Linked DNA regions of Homo sapiens: all the other regions are linked to region 1. Evidence: promoter capture Hi-C in human tissues and cell types (Jung and others, 2019). All regions are on one chromosome and are shown on one strand. Each heading gives the region's core, a stretch centred on a gene start or on the middle of the fragment in contact. The rest is flanking DNA. Distances are from core to core; before and after follow the strand shown.

Region 1 (2,700 bases), core at 163-2,662:
CCAACAGGCTAGTCCAAGCACGTCAGCTTTTGAAAGTGGTCACGGTCATGGTGGTGGTGGTGGGAGTCGGGGTCCGGAGAGGGGTGGAAGAATTTGCCTGGGATTGTAAATTGGGCTTCCATGCCAGGGAACTGGGCCACTTTACCTAGTGGGGACTGGGAACTGGGGACTGACAGAGTGACGCCCTGTGTTCTCTGCCATGCCAACTTGGGTCCAGAGCCTGGGGCTCCCCACTTTTGGAAACCCTGCCATGCTTGATTTTCACAATTCACTTACAGTCTCCCCAGTCCAGTCCCTGGTACCCCAACAAGGATGGGGGTGGGGGGCTGTGCTGACACAGAAGAAGGAGGGCTTTGGCCAGGTAGCAAAGTGTTCACAAAGTGTGAATCCCTTAAGCATTTCTGGGTATCCCTGCCCCTGGCTTTTACATCTCAGACCCCCAGCCAAGACTCAGGTACCAGCTGCCTCCCAGGACAGCAGAGAGCCAGGCTGTGGGCCGTGGGCTGCCAGGGACAGCTCCAACCCTGATCTATGGTTTTAGGCTTTCAGCCCCAACCAGGTCTTTGTTAAGACCGAGAAGAAAAGGGAAAAAGCTACAAGGTTCTGTCTCCCTAGAAAAGGAAAGGGAAGGCTGCCAGGGAAAAATTGTAGGGGGTGGGGGGATGCCTCATGCCCCTTCTGCGCCCCCTTCCGCGTGGTGGTGGGGACAAGAGAGAGATGTGGGTGAAGAAGAAGGTGGGGTGGGCGGCTAATTGAGGGGGACGACGATTGTGGCGCGGTCAGCGATGCGCCCAGAAGAGTGTGAGTGGGTTGTGTGTGTGTGCGCGCGCGCGCTCTTAGATGAAATTCTCATCTCAGGGTGTGCCCGAGACCCTGGCCAGCAGCCGCCTGCCCCAGCTTTGGGCAGACGCCCCCACCCGCTTTCGCAATTCACCTGGCCCCTTATCTTGAGTTGCGAGGGCTGCTCCCTCCCTCCCTCTTCTCGCCACCGAACCCCCATTCACCTGTTCCCCACCCCGAGTTCAAACGGCTGCTGCAGCTTCCTCCTCCCCGCACCGCCCCCGTACCTGCGCCCCCACAGGGCAGACGATGCTTGGCTGCGCGGCGCGGCGCGGGGCGAAGAGGCGAGGACCCTGCCCGGCGTGTGGGTGCGGGGGTGATGTGTGGACGCGCGTGACTGTGCCAGCGGCCCGAGCTGGTCGGCCCCGGAGAGGGTGCGCGGGGGAGCCCGCGTGTGCCAGCCGCGGGCGTGTGCCAGGCGCGGGCGTGCGCGTGAGGGTGTGTGCACGGCCGAGGCGGAGCGCCCGGGCGGGCGGCGGCGGCGGCGGCGGCGGCAACGGCGGCGGCGTTAGGACTCGGGGGACACCGCCCCCCGCCCCCCGCGTCCCGCCCCCGCCCAGCCTCCCGCCTCAGTTCGCGCCGCGCCTCGGCTTGGAACGCAGGAGCGCCGGCTCCGGGAGCCCGAGCGGAGCCAGCCGCGCGCACAGCCAGCGGCCGCGCCGGCGATGCGGGGCCACCCCGCGCCCGCCCCAGTCCCGGCCCCGGCCCCCGCGGGAAGGGGCTGAGCTGCCCGCCGCCGCCCGGATGGCGAGCCTCGCCGCGCTCGCCCTCAGCCTGCTCCTGAGGCTGCAGCTGCCGCCACTGCCCGGCGCCCGGGCTCAGAGCGCCGCAGGTGAGTGCGCCCGCCCGGCTCCCCTGGGCTCCCCGCTCCCTCCTGGATGCGCGCGGGCCCCCAGCCGCGGGGCCCTCGGAGGAGAAAGTTGTGTGGGCTCGCGGGGGCGCGGGTCCCCATGGCCGGAACCCGGGTCTCAGCTTGCAGGCGCGGGAAGCAGTGTCCCCGCGCGCCCCGGCCAGCGAGCCCGGCCCCTCGCGTCCCTCGGCAGCCCGCGTTTGGCGAAGTTCCCCGCTTCAGTTTCCTGCCGGCCCCCCGGGCTGGAGTAACTTTCCGCGGTTGTTGCGAATATTTCCACTTGCTGCCTCCCACTTGTCGGAATCTGCCACTTGAGTGTTTGGGGCGGCGAGACGAGGAGCGGCACCGACGCCCGGGGTGGAGCGTTCTCTCCCGGGCAGCTCCTCGGGCAGCGCGCGCTTTTAGTGGGGAGGACAGGTCCCCAGCAGGCCGAGGCTGCCGGGGCGGCGGCTTTTCTTTTTTCCTCGGAGATACAGGAAGCTCTCCATTTGCTCTGAACACGCTGCTCCCCTAAGCAGGCCGCTGTAGGCACCCGAGGGGATGTTTGCGTTGATGACCGAGAGCAATACCTCCGCCCTACCCGCTGGCTTTTCTCCGAGGTAGCTGGGCGCCCGTGTTAAGGCCCTTGGAGGGGAGTGGATTTGACCCGTGAGCGCGTCCGCTCCTGAAAAGTTCGGGGAACTCATATTTGGGTTTGGCCACGGGAAGGCGGTGAGCAGAGGTAGTTCCCCAGAGTAGGGGGAGCGGGGGCGGGGGGGTGGTGCCTGCCGTGCTCCTAAAGGCACGTTGGCGGGTGCTGGAGGGCACCACAGTCCAGGGTCTTACACATCACCAAGCCCCACCGCAGGCAGCTTCCACCCCCGAGCCCCCCCCCCCCCAAGAGTAGCGGCGGAGGGAAGAGAAGGGAGTGCTGCAGGTGTACTTCCAAGTTCAAAATCACCTTAAAGTTTCTTAGCACCGATTGCTTTTGGTGTAACCACGCCGGCCTGAGGTGGCTGGGATTGCGGGGA
Region 2 (2,788 bases), core at 114-2,613, 870 kb after region 1:
AGATCTGTGCAATAAAGCTCTTCTAAAAGAAGAGCATTTATTCCAGAGAACTATAAACTGTGGGGCATTCAAAGAGATTGAAAAATGTTCTCCAACTTACAAACCTTAAAAGAACTTTTACAAAGAGAGTCTAACATTGGGTATCAGTTGATATTCAATAAAGGATCAGTCATCTCTATTCACACACTAGCATCTTCTTACATCCTTCTAACTTGAAGGGAACAATATGAGATCACTAGACAGGAACTCAAGGCAATCGCTGTTTATCCGATTAGGGTTTCTGCATCCAGGCAGATTTGGTTTCATGTTTGCTTTCAATTTTAATTCAATCCAATTTAATTCATTTGAACAAGCATTCATTGATCACTTGTTGGGTGACAGGCATCCTGCTGGGCAGTATGGGGTGGGGGTGGAGAATGAGGCAGAGATAAGTAAGCAACAATGCCTACTTTGTAAAAGGTCACAATCTAGCCAGTGAAAGAGTAGTCCCATCTCATGATATTGGAAAACAAAGCAGATGGAGATTAGATGAGCTCTAGGGGAACTAAAGAGGGAGGTAATTCATCCAGACTGGACATATCTGGACAGGCTTCATAGAGGAAGTGAAAGACATGCTCAGCCTTTGGAGGAAACCAGAGGTGGCCAGGATGCAGGGCATTGCAGGTAGAGGAAGCATAAGTCAGTAATGCATGAGGTGAGATCCAAAAGATGTCTGTGCAATAGCATGGGGTCTGGAGTAGCTGGAAGATGGGAACACCATGAGAAGACCTTCTAAATGGAAGACAGAAGGCAGGCACAGAGGACTTCAAATGCCAAGATTAGGAGTTCAGATTGTATAATTTGGACAATGGAAGGCCTATGAAAGTGTTTGAAGAGCTATATGATTAGGAAGCCATATGATTAGGATGAGTGATTAATAAATCAAGTGCCTTAGAGGCAAAGAGACTAGTTGAATCTGGGTAAGTGGGAAAGTGTCCAACCAAGGCATTATCAGTGGAAGGAGAAAAGAGAGGTGGGGCAGATGCAAACCTGCAGAAGCCAAATCAACAGACTTCTGTAAGGCTGTTGATTAGGATGAGGAGTGAGAACGAAGGAGTTAAGAACTGAGGATGAGCCCTAGATTCAGATTCTGGCCACTTGTCAGATGCTGCTACCATTTACTAAGAAAGGAAATGTAGAAGGAGGAGCAGACAGGTTTGTAGGGGTTGGGGCTAAGTTGAGTTTTAGATGTGTCTAGTGTGAGCTGGCTCTGAGACAGCTAAGTGGAGGTAAAGTTCTACAACGTGGTAGGTTTGAAAATCTGATGCTCAGGACTGGAGTTTTGTTGTAGACCGAACCAATGCTTCCACATAGGAGAAGTTGGGTTGACACCATTAGAGCTAACAAGCTCATTCTTCCAGAAAGTTGCTCAACCATCTGTGTCTCCTCTTTCCTGTCCAGTGTTTATCAGCTGGTTGTCAAGGAGGAGCGACTTCAGAAGTCACGGAGGGCAGCTGACATTATTGAGTGCTTTTCGGTGCCCGTGAGCTATCGGAATGCCTCCAGCCTCGATTCTCTACACTACTTTGCTGCTGAGTTGAAGCCTGCCAACCTGCCTGTCACCCAGCCATTTACAGTGGGTGACAATAAGACATACAATGGCTACTGGAACCCTCCTCTCTCTCCCCTGAAAAGCTACAGCATCTACTTCCAGGCACTCAGCAAAGCCAATGGAGTAAGTATGGCCACATGGAGGCCATTCCTTGCCTTGTTTGCATTTTTTCATTCTCAAATGATAAGTCAGCAGGGCTCTAGAGCAGAGGATGAAAAACTAAGGCCCGTGGGGCAAATCCTACCTCATGCCTTTAAATTAAAAAAATAATAGTACAGCTATGCCTGTTCATTTACATACTGTCTATGGCTGTTTTGATGCTTAACAGTAAAGTTGAACAGTTGTAACAGAGACTATATGCTCCACAAAGCCTAAGATATTTATTATATGGCTTTTTACATAAAACCTTTGCACACTCCTGTATTAAAGTAAAGAGATGGTGCTTTACTTGAGGAAATTACATGACCTCTCTGATCCTTAAGTTCTTCATATATAATAATAATATCTATCAATTTGCTATCTAGGAATGCACTAATCATGGTTTAGTTGATTAGTGATTAATACGCCCTTTTTCATTGCCATTGGTCACATTAGAAAATAGTGTTTCTCCAAAAACAAAAACAAGGTAACCATTTTTTTTTTTTTTTTTTTTTTTTTTTTTGAGACGGAGCCTCGCTCTGTCGCCCAGGCCGGACTGCGGACTGCAGTGGCGCAATCTCGGCTCACTGCAAGCTCCGCTTCCCGGGTTCACGCAAGGTAACCATTTTTGTGTCAAATATTTCTTTGGTCAAGGATTGGCACCAGTCATAATATTAGAAAATCACAGGGCTGGAAAGCATATCAAAGGTCATTCAACAATCTCAAACACACACAAAACAATGGTTCTATCCATACTACAACACCAATTAACTGGCATTAGTGCTTATTCTTGAATACCTCCAATGACAGAGAACTCATTTATCTCTGAGGTAGCTTTACTGTTTTCTGGAGTAGGGAGTGGGCTGTGTCTCTAAGGAGGCTTTTTAATGTACTTACTGAAATATTTCCTATTGAAGTTTCTATCCATTGTTCTTGATTCACACTCTTAGCATCCTACAAAACCAATGCAACCACCTTCTTGGTTTATAGTCTTTCAGTTACATAAGATCTTTTCTAACACCCTTTTCTTCTCTATATAAATGTGCCCATAAGATTGTC
Region 3 (2,700 bases), core at 157-2,656, 810 kb after region 1:
TGAGTGTGGGCTAAACCTGATCTCTGCATAGCCTACCAGTCAGTGCCTAATGCATCTCGGTGCCAGAAAGCTGGCCATTTTAGGAGACAGTGCTCCAGCACATGGAGAAGGTGGCAGCGTGATTTAGATCAGGGATCCAGTCTCCACAGGGAGCTAGAGAGAGTGGGATAAGGAAACTGAGGCAGGATGCAGCAGAGGGCAACACTGAAGTTCAAGGTTTTTAAAAATCAGCCTGCAGTAGCATTCTGACCCCAAAGCTATCTACTGAAATAGGGCTTAGGTTCTTAGTGGACTACCAGCCTCACACGTTTACTCTATAGGCCTTGGGCAGGATTGACTATCGAACTCATGGGAGCCAGAGATTAAAGCTTTGGGAGTGAAGGAGTCCTTGATTTTTGTGGGCTTGCTATGGATGGCCAGACTTCATATCCTTCACGTCCCTCTGCAACAGGCCTTTTGAAAGCCCATGAGAAAATGCTCTGACTGCCTTTGTAATCACTTTCCAATCAGCTTCACAGAATTGTAAAATTGATTATCCTGCTGATCTCACACAAGCTTTGGAGGAAAGCATGGGGGCACTTTAATTCTTTGTTGAGTTCTGCACACTGATTCAAGGAGACTTTAGCTTTTCCATTCATGCCCAAGAAGAAGGAAGTTCAAATTACCTTGAAATTACAATTTAGGGGCATCAAGCCTCGGCCAGTCTGTTTCATTTTCCCAATCACCCGGCCAGGGCCAAGGCCGAGAAAGGAGGTACCTGGCATATAACTCCTTTGTAGGAATGTGGAGAAGGGGTGGAGCTGGAGACCGAGCTCCTGCTGCCCTCCACAGGCTCAGGTGCCTCTAGGAAAAGTAAGAGTGAGAGGCTCTGGGAAGCATGCACTGGATGCCTCAAATTTGAGTCTGGTTGTTCTAGGGTCTCCCCATGAGATGATGATTAGGGTGTCATAGTTATACCAAGGCACTCCCACTCATTTTTCTTTGTTTTCCTCTTCTGTTATGATTAAACAGTTGGGATTTCTCTATTGCTGCAGGGAAATGAATAGAACTTTGTCATGCATTTCACCAGCCTAGAGATTCAGGGAAATCTTCCTGCAATAAAGGGGCTTGACCCGGGACTTGAGTAATGACCAGGTGTTGGCCAGTTGTAGAAAATTGGAAGTTCATCACAGACAGAGGTGACAGCATATGCCAAGGCACAGAGGCACTTTGTGGAGCAAGACTGAGGGAGGGAGTGGTAGGCATAAGACTGGGGAGGCTGGGCACGCCAGAGTTGAGCACCTGAAGGCAGAAGCAAAGGCTTACATGTTCAAAACGAAATGCAGCATTCCAAGTGCAAAAATGGAGCTGTGGGGGCACGGTAGAAGCACCAAGTGGGGAATGGTTGCCTTGGAGACTTGCTGGAGCAAGTTGAGTCAGTGTCACACCTGTCAAATTACACATGGAATTCACAAGGAATTTCTTTTTTCTCTAAATGAGGCTGATAAGTATTGAATGCTTACTACATGTCAGAACTATTTTAACAGCTTTGCATGAATTATTTAATCATTTCAAAATCCTGTGAAGGGGATACCATTAGTATCTGCGCTCTACAGATGAGGAAACTGAGCCTCAGGAAGTTAAATAATTTGCAGGTCATAAAACTGGTAACTGGAGGAATCAATATTCAAATATAGGCAGTCTGAACCTAGAGCCCGTATCTTAACCGTGGCACAATGCTGCCTCCAGTGATCTTAAGAAAATAGAGCTTGTTCATTCCTTTGTTCATTCGACAGATACTCACTGAGATATGCCTCAGGTTTTGTGCCAAGTTTTGGGATTACAGGGTTGTGCAAGATGGCAACTTAGATTCCCACATTGGAGAACTCGGTCTAGTGGGGAGACAGAAAATGAGTGAACAATTAACCAAAAAAGATACTATCAGGTTGCAAAGGAAGAGTAAAATAGGGCATCAGGAGAGAAAACACAGGAACTGGAAAGCATCTTTGGTGCCACACAGCCCAAATCCTGACTTTTCGAGATGAAAGAATTGAAGCCAAGAAGAGAGGTGTGATCTCAGAATCATACAGTCAGTAGGTATCTGAGAACAGAAAAAGAATCAAAGACTCCTAATATATTTAAGAGATGTTTATCTGGTGCCTCCCGCTGTCCTAGGCACCAGGAATGCAATGCTGAGCAAGACCATCACGGTCCCTCTCCTTGGGGATCTTACATTCTTTCCCCTACTCTGTGGGGGTTGCTGTGCTGTTTTCAATACACACTTCATTTCATCAAATGTCGGTTTGGCTCCAGAATCTGAATTCTCAACCAGTGAGATGTACCACATCTGTTAAGCCTTCTATTCTGCCCCAACCTCTGCCTCTGAAATAATCAGTCCTCCTCTGGGTAGGACCCCTAGTACTATTTCTGCACTATTAGTTATAATGATGCTATTTTTACTACTGCTACTCTATTGGTGCTCCTGCTGTATTCAGAATACTATCATCCAGGTTCTTCCTATAGTGTTATTTTTGTGAATCACAGCACTAATGCTACCACTTCACTCTGGCTTCATCTTTCTCTTCCTTCACTTTTCTTTTCTGTCCTCCAAAGCCATGTCTTCCACAGGCAATTTACAGAGGTGGCGAACTGAGGCTCAGCGCTAGGAAATGTCTCCTCCACAGTCACAAGGCTCACAACCGGAAGCACAGGATTTTAGGT
Region 4 (2,700 bases), core at 60-2,559, 530 kb after region 1:
AATTTTTTTTCTAGCAAAATAATCAGAGCTGCTCAAAAGAGAGTTTCAGACAGAGATCATCACTGCATTATTTATAAGGACAAAGACTTGGAAATCACTTAAATGCACCAACGATTGGAGAGTAGTTAAGTAAATTTTGGTGCACACACACAGTGGAATTCTATGCTAGTATTGTTACAAACTGTTTTTGTGGTATATGTATCTAATGGCATGGGTTAATGTTCATGCTGTAGGAAGTTTTAAAAAAAAGAGCCTACAAAACCACGAGTGTAAGTAATTACTGTGTCAGTTTTGTGAAATATAAATACACAGACCGCATATCAGCTGGGGCCAGTTTACCAGTGAAATCTATGAAGTATTGACCAGAACTCCCCATTTCAAATTCTGCACATGGAGATTTCAAAAAGAGCACATGAGCCCCTGTTCACTGCCTGCCCTGGATTCTAGAACATCAGTCAAATTCTTCTGGCTCCCCTAACTGAACCAAATGTGGACCTGGGCCCTTCCACACCACCCTGCCGAAGCCACATAACAAAGGCTGTTTCCTGCAGCAGCAAACTTCTCTTGGTGTTTGGTGGGACTCAGGCAAGGGGTCGCATTGCCGTCCTGCCCAGCATAGAACTCATCCTTTCTCAGACTTTAAAAGTCCTTTCAACAGGCAAGAAATTTTCACCTCTTTCTGTTTCCTCCCTCCCAAATTGCCCACAGGTGCAGCAAAGTCTTCTCATTCAAGTTCCTAGAGCAGTTCAACTTTCTCTAGACTCTATTTCCAGGCCCCTCTTTGTACATCTTTTGCACTGAACTGAACATTAAGTGGGGTTGGGGGAGGGCGGCTCATTCTGAGATCAAAGTGTTTCTTTGAATGGAAACAACCCTTCTTAAAATATGTATTTTAACCTATCTGCCCTTGGGTATAGGTACAGAGACAGACATGCCATATATATGTCTGTATATTATGTATATATATTCATGTATATATATAAATACACACACACATACACACACACACACACACACATATATTCAGGTATTGAGACTGTGGGTCACAAAAATTTATATAATTTAGAAATTGTTGTACCCATTGGAGTCAAATGTGAATGTGAATGATTGTTATAAATTGTAAAACACTCTATATGAGGGTATTTTTATTAGTTAGTGAATCATTGACATTTTTGGACAGTACAGAAACAGTCCCAAATTTGCTAAGCCCTGAGATGCAAACCAAGCTTCAAGCTCAGTGTTCAAATAGAGTAAGGGACAGTTAAATAGGGGGTTTGCTTTCAGTCCCATCAGAGTTTTAATGCTAGATTCACTCCTTAGGATGCTGGACAGCCTTGGGCAATTGCTTGACCTCTGTGAATCAGTTTCCCCCTCTGTTAATTAGTATAATGCTGCTTACCTCACTGGATAGAAATACAGGTCATTAATATTAATGATGGCTAATAATGCTCTGCAAGGCTTACCCCACTGACTTTGCCTGCAAACCTATAACCCCATGAGGTAGGTTTTATCATGACCATTACTACCAAGGCCAGAGAGATTTAGTGTTTTGCTCCAAGTCACACAGTTTAGGAAGTAGCTGAGGTTGGGGCCTACTGAGTCCGATTAGAGTCCTGCTCTGGACCCAGCTGACCATAGAACTCTAAGTACAATGCTTAGAACTTAGTAGGTGCTTAGTAAATTGGAGCCTTTGGTACTTTAACACCTAGGGGCTCACTTTCTCTCTCATTATCAATATATTACCTACTTATATGTTTCAAACTGGTAGTAACCAGTTTTGGCAAGGAACGAAGTAGGCTCTTAACAGGCATTTCTGCAGGTGAGTTAACTGGTACAACATATTAAGAGGACAGTATGCTATCTTTTTTCAGTTTCTCTCTCATTACCTAGGCCCTAGGCCTTCCTCACCATTAAACCCCAAAAATCCTCATTGCCATGAGTCTGAGGGGCTAGCCCTTTGCTGTGTTCACAAAGCTCACTCTATCAAGAGCTTGGTATGCAGCCTCAGCCAAAATGATGCCTGAGCCAGAGGAAGCCAAGGGCACCCTGTCCATTGCTGGCCATTCTGGAACGCAGAGGTCTCCCTGCAGTGAGAAGAATGGGAGAGTTATCCTGAGCAGTGAGCCCAAACCTGGCTTGGTGCAGAGAAAAAGACTCTGCCTGACAGAAAAGAGGAAAACCAGAGTGTCAGTTGTTTCTAAATCCCACCCACTATTGGCTTGAGCCACAAGTCATCCTGAGATTCTTGAGATGAGGTGTAGCAGGAGGTGAGAGTGGGAGTTAGGGGGTCTCGAAGGTCAATGGGAATCCACCAGAGAGTGGTTGTCCATCCACCACGGCCATGTAGATTTTCCTTGATGGGGCTTCTTAATCATTAGAAGCTTGTAACTTTTCCAGCCAACCCTTTTCCCACCTGGGCTTAGGGCGGAAAATGGATGCAGCCACTATAACTACTCTGGTGGTGGCTGCCATTTTACTTCTTTATCTTCTTCATCTTTATACTTGAAAAAAAGAGGTAGCACATTTTTGAAATTTGAAAGTAACCTTTTGAAAATAGGAAATGTATTTCATATTCCAATTAAATATATATTTTTTGCTTGTGTCTATTCCCTTTTAGTCACTGACCTCATTCTCATGTAATCATGCTCCATATGCCCTTTAGTCTCATTGGTCACTCTACAGCATAAAATAAATATTTTA
Region 5 (2,700 bases), core at 149-2,648, 850 kb after region 1:
TCAAAGTAACAAATACACATAGTTGGAAAATCAAATAGCCCAACCATTCCCAACACCACCATTTACAACCCCCCCTCCCCCAGTCCTGTGCCTCAGAGGCAAATGCATTTTAATTCTTTGCTCTTTCTTCTGGGAATTGGCAATGTCACTACATAATGTGCTATTTTAAAGTTATCGATTGCAGACATTATCTATTTATTTCCTGCTATGATAGATGGTAACTTGTCTGTCTTAAATCATCCAATACCTCCCTTCCTTCTTTCCAATGTAGTTAAGCCACAGTTTTTTGTTAAATAACTACACAATGGCCAACTTTACAATTCCATAAAAACAGGTCACTTCAGAGCCAAATGGTATATTACTTCTTTTACAGTATAATATAATATGTAAGTATTATATTATTACATAATTAATTTAAAGCTTGCTAAGATTTTAAGTTCTTTATGTATATTAACTCAGTTGATTATCGTCAAAACCCTACCAGGTAGAAACTAGTGTTATCCCTATTTTACAGATGGGGAAACTGAAGTACTGAAAGGTTAACTAACTTGCTCAAGATCATGCAGCTAGTAGCAGCCGATATGAAATTTGAACATAATGGTCTAGCCCCACAGTCTGGAGTGTACTACTATGTTATACTACTTCTAATTACTCTTCTTGTGGGCTTTTTTGTTTAATTCGTTATAGAATGTACAATTATTCTCATTTCTTCAGGCAGTTTATTTATTAAACTATTCATACATTTTTCCTCCCACAGAACTCCATCATTTTAGGTTTGCCTTTAAATACTCTTTTTCCCCTTTTCTTTTCTGCCAATTTCTTCTATTTCCTAAAACAAAACAGAACAACTCCCTCAAAAAAATTCTCAAATTTGTTTATAATTTTGGCAGTCATAATTTTTCATTTTGAGCTACTTACTGTTCTTTGAATTTTTTTTCTTATAACATTCACTTCTTATTTATAGAAGTAATCATTTCTCAAACATCTCAGGATATGATTTTGATTTTGGAGAAGGGGGAAGCTTTTCTGACTCCTGTATTATCTCTGTTTCTTCTAGAGTCATTTTTTTTAATTCACTGCTCTCTTTCATGTTGGAAGCATTGCTTACCTAACCAGTGAACCTCCATAGCCAATATTTAAAAGTAAGGTGTTGAGAAAGTTGACTGGAGGTGCTGTGCTTTTGGAGGCGGAGGCATTCAAATTCTGAAATGAAATCCTCTTCCTATCTCCTGCCTAAGGGGTAGAGGGCAGACACATAGCTCTCCATGTTCAAAGGTTTGATGGTTTTGTGTACAGACTTTTGATAAACACCCCTTTTCAGCCCCACATTTTACTTCCACACTGTCCACACTTGACTACTCCAACATCAGAATCTCTCTTGAAATCTGTGGGGCAAATAAAATCCATTCTTACTCACATGTCTTTGCAATTTGACTTTCTTTATCTCATCACATGTGGTACCTCTCCTCTGACCATTTTTAGGTTTCCAGAATTTTCTTAAAACTGCTCATCCACTGATGTCCCCTCTCCTGTCCTCTTTTTCCTTGTGGATTTCTATGCTTTTTCACATTTCACTGCAATAACAGTGAGGAGATAGAAGAGGTAAATGGAGTACATTAATTCTTCCGCTTTTAACTAGAAGTTCACTTACATTATTGTCTATTGCAGTTCTCAAATAACAAATGATGGAGGCATTATTATCGTATTCAGTTCTTATAAATGCTATCATTTAAATAAATTAAGGAAGATCACATAACCAGTGAGATTCAGAGCTAAAATTCAAGTTTAATGCTGATTCCTGAGCCTATGCTCTTTTTACTTCCAGGTCATAAAAACATTTATGTCTTGAAAACCATTGCCAGATTATTTTCCCCAATTTGATGAATCAATTAAAAATGCTACTGGAATTGTAGAATCCTACCAGTTCAACCACAGCTTCACTGAAATGGCTTGTTATAATTTATGCTTACTTTTACTAATTTAATGCATTTAAATGGGAACATATTGTCATTTTGATTTGCATGTCTTGGCTTACTGGCAAGGCAGAATATTTTTCTAGGTATTTTTATGCTATTAACATTTCTTTTTTGTGAATTTTCTTTTTACATCCTTTTCCTAATTACCTATGGCAGTGGTTCTCAACCAGCGTTAATTTGTCCCTTAAGAGATATCTGGCAATGTCAGGACATATTTTTGTTTATTACAAGTCGGAGGTGATACTGGCATCTAGTTAGTGAGTGGGGGTCAGGGATCCTGCTGAACATCCCACAATGCACAGCACAGCCAGCCCCCTACAACGAAGACTTATCCAGCCCAAAATGTCAGTAGTGCCAAGATTGAGAAACTCTGAACCATGGGGGTCTTAATAGACTTTTTTTTAAAAAAATGTATGATTCACAGGTTCTTGATCTTTTAAATTTGAAGACCCCTTTACACTCTTAAAAATTAATGAAGGCATCAAAGAACTTTTGTTTATGTGGGTTTTGTCTATCAATGTTTACTGTATTAGAAATTAAAGCCAAATTCAAGCCGGGCATGGTGGCTTATGCCTGTAATCCCAGCACTTTGTGAAGCCAAGGTGGGCGGGTCACTTGAGGTCAGGAGATCAAGACCAGCCTGGCCAACATGGTGAAAACCCATCTGTACTAAAAATACAAACATTAGCCAGGTGTGGTGGTGCATGCCTGTAGTTCCAGCTAC

Evidence for each region. The method cuts DNA at HindIII sites, captures the fragments that hold promoters and counts their contacts. A contact is called where the count stands out against the background at its distance.
Region 2: a contact is called between a fragment that was not itself captured here and the fragment with the promoter of PTPRT in region 1, in 1 of the 25 tissues and cell types used here (dorsolateral prefrontal cortex).
Region 3: a fragment that was not itself captured here is called in contact with the fragment with the promoter of PTPRT in region 1 in 2 of the 25 tissues and cell types used here (dorsolateral prefrontal cortex and heart left ventricle).
Region 4: a fragment that was not itself captured here is called in contact with the fragment with the promoter of PTPRT in region 1 in 1 of the 25 tissues and cell types used here (H1 embryonic stem cells).
Region 5: a contact is called between a fragment that was not itself captured here and the fragment with the promoter of PTPRT in region 1, in 1 of the 25 tissues and cell types used here (dorsolateral prefrontal cortex).

The regions. Positions count from the first base shown.
Region 1 is chr20:43,188,618-43,191,317 of GRCh38, reverse strand. It overlaps PTPRT (protein tyrosine phosphatase receptor type T), which reads left to right and starts at 1,412. Exons shown (of 31, transcript NM_007050.6): 1 at 1,412-1,672. The coding sequence starts at 1,585. PTPRT-DT (PTPRT divergent transcript) reads right to left here and starts at 1,253. Exons shown (of 3, transcript NR_186414.1): 1 at 1,068-1,253. The HindIII fragment of the contact is 13,787 bases long and covers 1-2,700 here.
Region 2 is chr20:42,314,649-42,317,436 of GRCh38, reverse strand. PTPRT (protein tyrosine phosphatase receptor type T) reads left to right here. Exons shown (of 31, transcript NM_007050.6): 12 at 1,441-1,714. Among named protein-coding and RNA genes, the nearest start is that of PTPRT-AS1, 650 kb to the left of the region's middle. The HindIII fragment of the contact is 7,545 bases long and covers 1-2,788 here.
Region 3 is chr20:42,377,679-42,380,378 of GRCh38, reverse strand. The region is part of intron 9 of PTPRT (protein tyrosine phosphatase receptor type T); the gene reads left to right. Among named protein-coding and RNA genes, the nearest start is that of PTPRT-AS1, 590 kb to the left of the region's middle. The HindIII fragment of the contact is 3,599 bases long and covers 1-2,700 here.
Region 4 is chr20:42,661,285-42,663,984 of GRCh38, reverse strand. The region is part of intron 7 of PTPRT (protein tyrosine phosphatase receptor type T); the gene reads left to right. Among named protein-coding and RNA genes, the nearest start is that of PTPRT-AS1, 310 kb to the left of the region's middle. The HindIII fragment of the contact is 4,745 bases long and covers 1-2,700 here.
Region 5 is chr20:42,333,808-42,336,507 of GRCh38, reverse strand. All of the region lies in intron 11 of PTPRT (protein tyrosine phosphatase receptor type T), which reads left to right. Among named protein-coding and RNA genes, the nearest start is that of PTPRT-AS1, 630 kb to the left of the region's middle. The HindIII fragment of the contact is 3,717 bases long and covers 1-2,700 here.